2 separate regions of the Homo sapiens genome follow, and region 2 is linked to region 1. The links are contacts of gene promoters, found by promoter capture Hi-C in human tissues and cell types (Jung and others, 2019). All regions are on one chromosome and are shown on one strand. The core of a region is centred on a gene start or on the middle of the fragment in contact, and the rest is flanking DNA. Distances in the headings are between cores, read along the strand shown. Region 1 holds the start of DUSP4 (dual specificity phosphatase 4). Region 2 has its middle 23 kb from the start of MBOAT4.

The links. The method cuts DNA at HindIII sites, captures the fragments that hold promoters and counts their contacts. A contact is called where the count stands out against the background at its distance.
Region 2: a contact is called between a fragment that was not itself captured here and the fragment with the promoter of DUSP4 in region 1, in 1 of the 25 tissues and cell types used here (spleen).

The regions. Positions count from the first base shown.
Region 1 is chr8:29,348,944-29,353,262 of GRCh38, reverse strand. DUSP4 (dual specificity phosphatase 4) reads left to right here and starts at 2,579. Exons shown (of 4, transcript NM_001394.7): 1 at 2,579-3,417. The coding sequence starts at 2,985. It overlaps LOC124901924 (a long non-coding RNA gene), which reads right to left and starts at 2,289. Exons shown (of 2, transcript XR_007060876.1): 1 at 1,729-2,289. RefSeq lists enhancers at 1,662-1,771, 1,812-1,881, 2,580-3,079, 3,402-3,551, 3,080-3,581 and silencers at 2,072-2,211, 2,402-2,721, 4,292-4,319. The HindIII fragment of the contact is 25,056 bases long and covers 1-4,319 here.
Region 2 is chr8:30,119,757-30,124,075 of GRCh38, reverse strand. It overlaps a transcript of LEPROTL1 not described here. Among named protein-coding and RNA genes, the nearest start is that of MBOAT4, 23 kb to the left of the region's middle. The HindIII fragment of the contact is 9,935 bases long and covers 1-4,319 here.

The DNA.
Region 1 (4,319 bases), core at 1,330-3,829:
CGTGGACACACACACTCACACGCGCCCTCCCACACCCCTTTCCGTGTGAATCGCCTGCGGGATTTAGGGCTTCTCCACCAGCGATTACTGTCAGGTGCAGAAAGCAAGCCTCTTTGTTCTATGGGCATTTTCCTCCCCCTGGATTTGACTGTTATTTACTGGCCACGTGAGCGCCAGGCGCGGGTCCGGCGGGGAAGGCGACCCCAGAACAGGGTAGACAAAAGCTGGCCCAGAGCGCGACCCGTGCGCCCCAGGGACGTCTCCCCAGCTCCTGCGACACGCGTGAAATTGGCCCGGACCTGCCTCCTGAGAGGCTTTTCCCAGAAATGTCTTGTTAAAGCCTTTGTAAAGGAATCAGTGTTTACTTGCGCCGGGAGAGCTCCGGCCCTGGGTCCTGGCAGGCGGCGGATTTCTGAGCTGCTGGAGAGCAACCCGGGAAAGCAAAATCAGCCTTGGACTGTCGGGGCCCCTGGGGCTCCTTGCTCCTTATCGAAAGCGAGTTATTAGATAGACCCCCACAGTCCCATTCAGCAGAATGGGAAACTGGACTCAGACACCTTTTGCCCTCCCCACAGGGAGGCCACGCCGTGCGGCTTTGACCACTGATCTCCCACCCGGAGTGCCCGACGCCCAGGGTCCTGCCACCGGGCAGCCTCGGTCAGTCCACAGTTGTGGCTCCTTCCAGGGCCTGGACTAGGGTGAGCACAAGCCTTGAGCGCAACATTTAAGAAGGGCGCCGAAAAGTCAGTAATCAAAAGAAATATCTTGATGCAATGCCTCTTTAAAAGAAAAAAAAATGCAAAAAATCCATGATGAATAAAATACTAAATTTTAAAAAGAGAAAGGATCCGTGCAGTGCCATCGTAAGCCATTTTGGAGCCCGGAGCAAAAGGAAATATCACCTTGCCCAAGCGGTGCCCCTACAGCTCATCCGAGTAGGGCCCGGGGGTCGAGGCATTCGGGGCCCAGTGGGGGACGAGGCCAGTCGAAGGTCTCGGAAGTGGAGGCTCCGCCGAGCTCCGGTCGGGGAGTGCAGGGATGGCCCCCGGGACCGGAGGTGAGAGCTCGGGAAAGCCGCTCCGCCCGGAACAAAGGCATGGGGAGAGGGTGAGCTTGGGCGGGAGAGACCCGGCGGGTACCGGTGCCCTCGCTGCCTGGGTCGGGCTTCCACGCGCGCCCCGGAATGGAATACGCTACTCTGCAGCCTCCGAAACTGCGAGCGAGTCCTGTAACTCCCTTGCTCTGTGATTAATTCTCACTAACAAGACTTGGCAAGATGTCGGGCGAATGATTTTTGGCTTCTGCACGGTCCCCACCGCGTGCGTGCACAAACCCCCAGCCAAAAGCCGCCTCTGGGAAATTAAATGCAAAAGAGAAATGGGGATGGGGAGGGCTGCTACGTGACCAGGAAAAAGGGATGCCCAGAAACATGAATCGGACCCAGAGCTGCTGAAGTCCTTTCAAAAGGTCATTCTTTGCGGGTACATTTTCCAGGGTCCAGCTCCGCAACAAATGTGGACCCTGTCATTTCCTGAAAGGATAATTCACAACTATGCAAGATAGGGTGAAGACGTTTCCCAAACCCGAAAACCTTGTTTTTCCCCCGACCAGGGTTAAATAAACATCTTTTAGGAAGCGTGGACAGGAGCGCAGCCTGCTCTCCTCCCTCGGAACACCATTCCGGCAATTAATGCCTCCCTTTGGGTAGTAAAGCAACAAACCCCACACCTCACTCCGATCCTGGGCTTCGGGCGGGAGGACTTTCTCTTTCATCTTCCAAGCAGGGGGTTGCCCACGTTCTTGGGGAAGCTATAAAACTGATTTAATGGCTTTAGATGAAAATCGATCACGCTAATGCATACGCTAACGTCTCAGGAATCGCATATTCAGAAAGGACTGGCCGGGCCGAAAGCGCACGGGGAGTCTGGGGCTAGGAGGTGTCAGGCCCCGCTGGGTGGGCAGCAGCGCTCCGGTCCCCTCTCCACTTGGGTAACCGGGAAAAACCTACGGGGCTGTCACGCGGGGAAGCGCGAAGGTGCCAAGGGATGAAAGCTCAAACCCGAGCCCTGGCCTCCTCAGCCGGCTATTTCCTTTGGCGCCGCCCGCCTAGCGGCGGGGTGCAGCGGCGGCACAGGTGCCGGTGTCGGGCTGGAGGCGCGGCGCAGGCTGGGCCCGCGGGTAGACGGCGAAAGGCGCCGCGCGCTCCATTCACAAAGTCCGGGCGCTGCCCGCCGCTGGCGGCGGGTCGGAGGCCGCCTCCCTCTTCCTCTCGGCCTCGGTTTTATGAATGGGCCTGATGGCGAGCACCCGGCGCCCTGTTTACTCCGCTCTTTGTGACGTCGAGTTCCCGTGACCGGGAGCCAGCGGCCGCGCTCCATTCAAGCTCCGGGGAGGGGGTGGGAGGAGGGGCCCGGAGGGGGCGGGGAGTCAGCGCGGGGGGCGGGGGACAGCGCGGGGGGCGGGGGACGGCGCGGGGCCCGGAATGGAACGGGGCGGGGCCTGGCGGGGTAGTACCTAGCGCCCCCTCCCCCGGGAGCGCGGAGGAGCATTAATAAACCTCTAAGCCGAGGAGAAAACTCTGGCTGGGGCAGTGCGCTGAGCGCCGGAGGAGCGTAGGCAGGGCAGCGCTGGCGCCAGTGGCGACAGGAGCCGCGCGACCGGCAAAAATACACGGGAGGCCGTCGCCGAAAAGAGTCCGCGGTCCTCTCTCGTAAACACACTCTCCTCCACCGGCGCCTCCCCCTCCGCTCTGCGCGCCGCCCGGCTGGGCGCCCGAGGCCGCTCCGACTGCTATGTGACCGCGAGGCTGCGGGAGGAAGGGGACAGGGAAGAAGAGGCTCTCCCGCGGGAGCCCTTGAGGACCAAGTTTGCGGCCACTTCTGCAGGCGTCCCTTCTTAGCTCTCGCCCGCCCCTTTCTGCAGCCTAGGCGGCCCGGGTTCTCTTCTCTTCCTCGCGCGCCCAGCCGCCTCGGTTCCCGGCGACCATGGTGACGATGGAGGAGCTGCGGGAGATGGACTGCAGTGTGCTCAAAAGGCTGATGAACCGGGACGAGAATGGCGGCGGCGCGGGCGGCAGCGGCAGCCACGGCACCCTGGGGCTGCCGAGCGGCGGCAAGTGCCTGCTGCTGGACTGCAGACCGTTCCTGGCGCACAGCGCGGGCTACATCCTAGGTTCGGTCAACGTGCGCTGTAACACCATCGTGCGGCGGCGGGCTAAGGGCTCCGTGAGCCTGGAGCAGATCCTGCCCGCCGAGGAGGAGGTACGCGCCCGCTTGCGCTCCGGCCTCTACTCGGCGGTCATCGTCTACGACGAGCGCAGCCCGCGCGCCGAGAGCCTCCGCGAGGACAGCACCGTGTCGCTGGTGGTGCAGGCGCTGCGCCGCAACGCCGAGCGCACCGACATCTGCCTGCTCAAAGGTAAACGAGGGCTCCGGGCGCTAGCTGGAGTCGGGGAGATGGAGGGGGTCTTGGCGGCCTGCGCCTTATTGGCACGGGAAGGAGTCCCCGGCGTGATTCGTGGTTGCGGGGATCCCCGCGCGCCCCTTTGTGTGTGTTGGTGTGTAGGGGTTTGCAAGGTTTCTGTGCAAGTGCGAGGTTCAAGTCCTCAGGGAAAGTGCGGACGGGTTTCTCCGGTCACCTGCAATTCCGCACCGTCCTAGCGAGGCCCCGTTTATTGACATTAACGGTCCTAGCCTCGAGGATGAAGCGACTCCTCTGCGCGGTCCATCTTGAGTCCCGGGAACAGTTTCCAAGTACCACGGGGCGCGTGGGGACAAGATAGGCCTGTTGGTTTGGCGTGCTGGGGCCCTACACTGAGCCGGACCGGGAGAATCCCAGAGGTGGAGAAAAGGTGAAGAGGGGTGGGCGCCGAGGTACAATTGGCCTTGCCAGTTTCACTGAAAACAAGACCCTGGCAAATGCAGAAAGGGAGATTGGGTTGCACACACTGTGTAGAGCGATCTGTATCTGCGTTCCCGCTGCCCAACTCCAAGCTCAGCTTGGAAGGTGGCCAATCCCCGTCCCGGGCTAGATCCAGGCTCTGGGAGCGGGAGGCTGAAGGACTGGGTATCTGGGGGACGCCGGGCGGAACCGGTCCTCTAGCGCCTGCAAATCCGGGCAGCGGAGAATGATCACCTTTTGTTCAGCCCGGATTTTCGACTATCTGATGGCGGCGCGTGCCGGATTTTAGCGAGCCCTGGCGAAACTCTCGGCGGCGAGACTGTCTTGTCACATTTGGTAGTCGGAAATCCTGGAAAAATCGCGTGCTGTCCGAGTCCCTGGAGGGACCTGGCGCCCGCCACACCTGCAGGGCAGGGTGG
Region 2 (4,319 bases), core at 456-2,955, 770 kb before region 1:
CTAACAATCTCACCAACTTTGTGTTTTGGTAGTTTCTTCTTCACTGCACTCCAGGTACAATGGCCTTGCTATCTTCTGGAAAAAAAAAAAAAAAGCCTATTCCTCCCTTTGAGCCTTTGAAATTGCTTGTCCTTCTATCCAGAATGTTCTTACCCAGGTCTCTGTGGATAGAGATGCTGCTCCTTTACATCATTCATGTCTCTGTTCAAATGACATCTTGCCAGAGAGGAACACCTTGTCTAAAATAAATCCCATTCCCATGCCATCATTCCCATCTCCTCACTCTGCTCTATTTGGTTCATTTACTTTTCATTGATTGAAATTATGTTATTTATTGTTTGACTAAATGAATAAATGATAGGTCTGGATAGAGCTTCCTAAGCAGGAATAAGTATAGACATGGGAACCATGCAAACATACTTCATACTTGAGGTTTGTATGTGTGTATATGTATGTGTGTGTGAGTGAGAGAGAGACGGAGCGAAACAGAGGAATGCTAGTATGACATGAGAAAACCTGACATATTTAGGAATAAATGTAGTAAAATGACTGCAAGACTTGTACTTGGAAAACTATGAAACACTGCTGAGAGATGTTGCAAACCTCAATAAATTGAGAGATATATCATGTTCATTGATTGAAATACTCAATATTGTTGTGGCAGATTGCATTTTCCAAAGATGGACACCATAATATATTCCCTCCCATATGCTTTTCTTACAATGTAACATTAACACTCTTCCCATTGAATGGTCTACGGTCATTCCCCTTGAACCTGGGGGGACATTTACACAACTGGGTTGACCACTAGAGTATGGCAGAAGTGATGCTTCGTGACTTCTAAGGTAGGTCATAAAATATCCATACACTTCTGACTGGTTTTCTTGGGATGATTCACACTCTTGGAATGGATGTAAGAAAGCCACATTGCCATGGAGAGGCAGAGTTTTATATGGAGAGGAGCAGAGACCCCTGGCCTTCATACTAGCTGAGCTCCCATTTAGACATCCAGCACCAATTGCCAGCTATGTAAGTGAACCATCTTGGGAGATGATCCACCAACCCCCAGCTGACACCATGTGGAGCAGACAAACACGTACTGTTAAGACAGGACCAAATTACAGATTTGTGAGCTGAACCAATGATTATTGGTTTAAGTCAATAGGTTTTGGGTGGTTTGCTATGCTGCAATAGGTAACTGTTACAATTGTTAAGATTCATTCTCCCCAAATTGATCTATAGCTTCAATGCAATCCCAATTAAACTCCCAAAAGTTTTTTTGGGAGAGAGTCTTGCATTGTTGCCCATGCTGCAGTGCAGTGGCGCGATCTCAGCTCACTGCAACCTCCACCTCCTAGGTTCAAGGGATTCTCCTGCCGCAGTCTCCCGAGTAGCTGGGATTACAGGCATGCACCACCACACCTGGCTAAATTTTTTTTGTATTTTAAGTAGAGACGGAGTTTCACCATGTTGGCCAGGCTGGTTTTGAACTCCTGACTTCAAGTGATCCACCTGCCTTGGCCTCCCAAAGTGTTGGGATTACAGGCGTGAGCCACCATGCCTGGCCCTCCCAAAAGTTTCTAAAAATAGAAATTGACAAACTAACTCTAAAGTTTATATGAAAATACTAGACTGGGTGAAGTGGTACAGGCCAATAATCCCAGTACTTTGGGAGGCTGAGGTGGGAGGATTGCTTGAGGACAGGAGTTTGAGACTAGCCTGGTCAACATAGTGACACCCTGACTCTACATAAAAATTTTGAGTGATTTTTGAATATAGAGTGAAGTAGGGGTCCAATTTCATTCCTTTGCATGTGGATATCTAGTTATCCCAGCAGAATCATCTGGAAGAGGTGATTCTTTCCACATTGAATTACCTTGACACCTAAAGTTAATTTTTTTTTTTTTTTGAGAGGGAGTCTCGCTCTGTTGCCCAGGCTGGAGTGCAGTGGCATGATCTCGGCTCACTGAAACCTCGGCCTCCCGGGTTCAAGCGATTCTCCTGCCTCAGCCTCTTGAGTAGCTGGGATTACAGGCGCGTGCCACCACGTACAGCTAATTTTTTGTATTTTTAGTAGAGATGGGGTTTTACCATGTTGGCCAGGCTGGTCTCGAACTCCTGACTTCAAGTGATTTGCCCACCTTGGCCTCCCAAAGTGCTAGGATTACAGGGGTGAGCCACTGTGCCAGCCTAATTTTTTTTTAAAGATAAAAAGAAAACAAAAAAGAAATCACTGGAATGCTTAGGGGAGCAGAAGGTAAGGAGCTCTCCACCAGCTTTCCTGTTAGACCCCACACCCCTAATCCAGAGGCCAGGACATTTCTACTGCCATCCAGAGGCCAAGAAACCACTGCCAGAATCACACATCCCTGCATTGGGTAAAAAGCAGTGCAATAGAGTCTTGTCAGCCCCAGAAAAAACACACCAAAGCCCACATACCACTGCTGGCAGAGGAAGGATGTCTTTTGCTTTCCTTCAGGTTTCCAAGTCATCTCATGAGTTTATTTTATTAACAATATCTAGGCTGGGCGTGATGGCTCACACCTGTAATCCCAGCACCTTGGGAGGCTGAGGTGGGCGGATCACTTGAGCTCAGGAGTTGGAGACCAGCCTGGCCAACATGGCGAAAACCCATCTCGACTGAAAATACAAAAAATTAGCCTGGCGTGGTGGCGGGTGCCTGTAATCCCAGCTACTTGGGAGGCTGAGGCAGGAGAATCACTTGAACCCAGGAGGCCAAGGTTGTGGTGAACCAAGATGGAGCCACGGCACTCCAGCCTGGGCGACAGAGTGAGAGTCCATCTCAAAAAAAACAAAAACAAAAACAAAAACAAAAACAAAACCCCAAAAACAATAAACAACAAAACACACAAAACACAATATGTAGATGAAACACAGAACCCTGGAGGTAAGAGAATCGAGTAAATGTAGTTTCAAGGCTCCTGAGATAAAAGGGGATGGGAATCAGTAAACAATATACAGCTTATCAACCAGTCCCAGAAGAACAAACGCTATATGATTCCATAGGAGGTACCTAGAGGAGTCAGACTTACAGAAACAGAGTAGAATGGTGGCTGCCAGGGGCTGGGAGCAGGGGGAATGGGAGTAGAGTTTGTCATGCGAGATGAAAAAGTTCTAGAGATCTGCTGTATAGAATTATGCGGGTATATAACAATACTGAAGTGTACACTTAATAATTTAAGATGGTATTTCAGCCAATCCTGTTTGAAAAGAAAAACAAAACAGTTGGGTGTGGTGGCTCATGCCTGTAATCCCAGCACTTTGGGAGGCTAAGGCTGGTGGATCACTTGAGCCCAGGAGTTCAAGACCAGCCTGGGTAACATGGCAAAACTTCATCTCTAAAAAGAAATACGAAAATTAGCCAGGCATGGTGGCTCATGACTGTAGTCCCAGCTACATGGGAGGCTGAGACAGGAGGATTGCTCAAGCCGGAGAGGCGAAGGTTGCAGTGAACTGAGATTGCACCACTGCACTCCAGCCTGGGTGACAGAGAAAGAACCCATCTCAGAAACAAAATTAAACAAAGATGGTAGATTTCATGTTATGTATTTTGTTACCAGAGTTAAAAAAATATATACATATATATATATGCATATACAAATACATACAACTTATTAAGCGACCATTTACATTTTGCCCTCTTTATATTTTACAACTAAAAGAGTATCATGTAACATCTTATGCACATGCAGTCTTATGATAGTTCTTATTCTTCTATTTCTCCCCAAATGGCTGGGGGAGATCTGGATCCATGCTGTTCTTTTATGTTTGTTATGGAGGAAGCAACTGTTAACAGATTTTCCAACTCAGAATCTGCTTCAAAGGGATGAGCTATTTGGACCCTTTTCAGAAACTTGCTTGGGGCAAAACTCATTAGTAATAATGACAATCAATTATAATTTTATTATTTTATTTGAGGTAGTTTAATGTGCAGCCTTAAAAACATACATTTATTTATTTATTTATTTATTTATTTATTTATTTATTTATTGATGGAGTCTCACTCTGTTGCCCAGTCTGGAGTGCAGTGGCATCTCGGCTCACTGCAACCTCTGCCTCCCAGGTTCAAGTGATTCTCCTGCCTCAGCCTCCCTAGTAGCTGGGATTACAAGCATACGCCACCACGCTCTGCTAGTTTTTGTATTTTTAGCAGAGACGGCATTTTGCCATGTTGGCCAGGCTGGTCCTGAACTCCTGTCCTGAAGTGATCCACCTACCTCGGCCTCCCAAAGTGCTGGGATTATAGACATGAGCCGCCAGGCCCAACTTAAAAGCATTTTTATAAAAAAATCACGAAA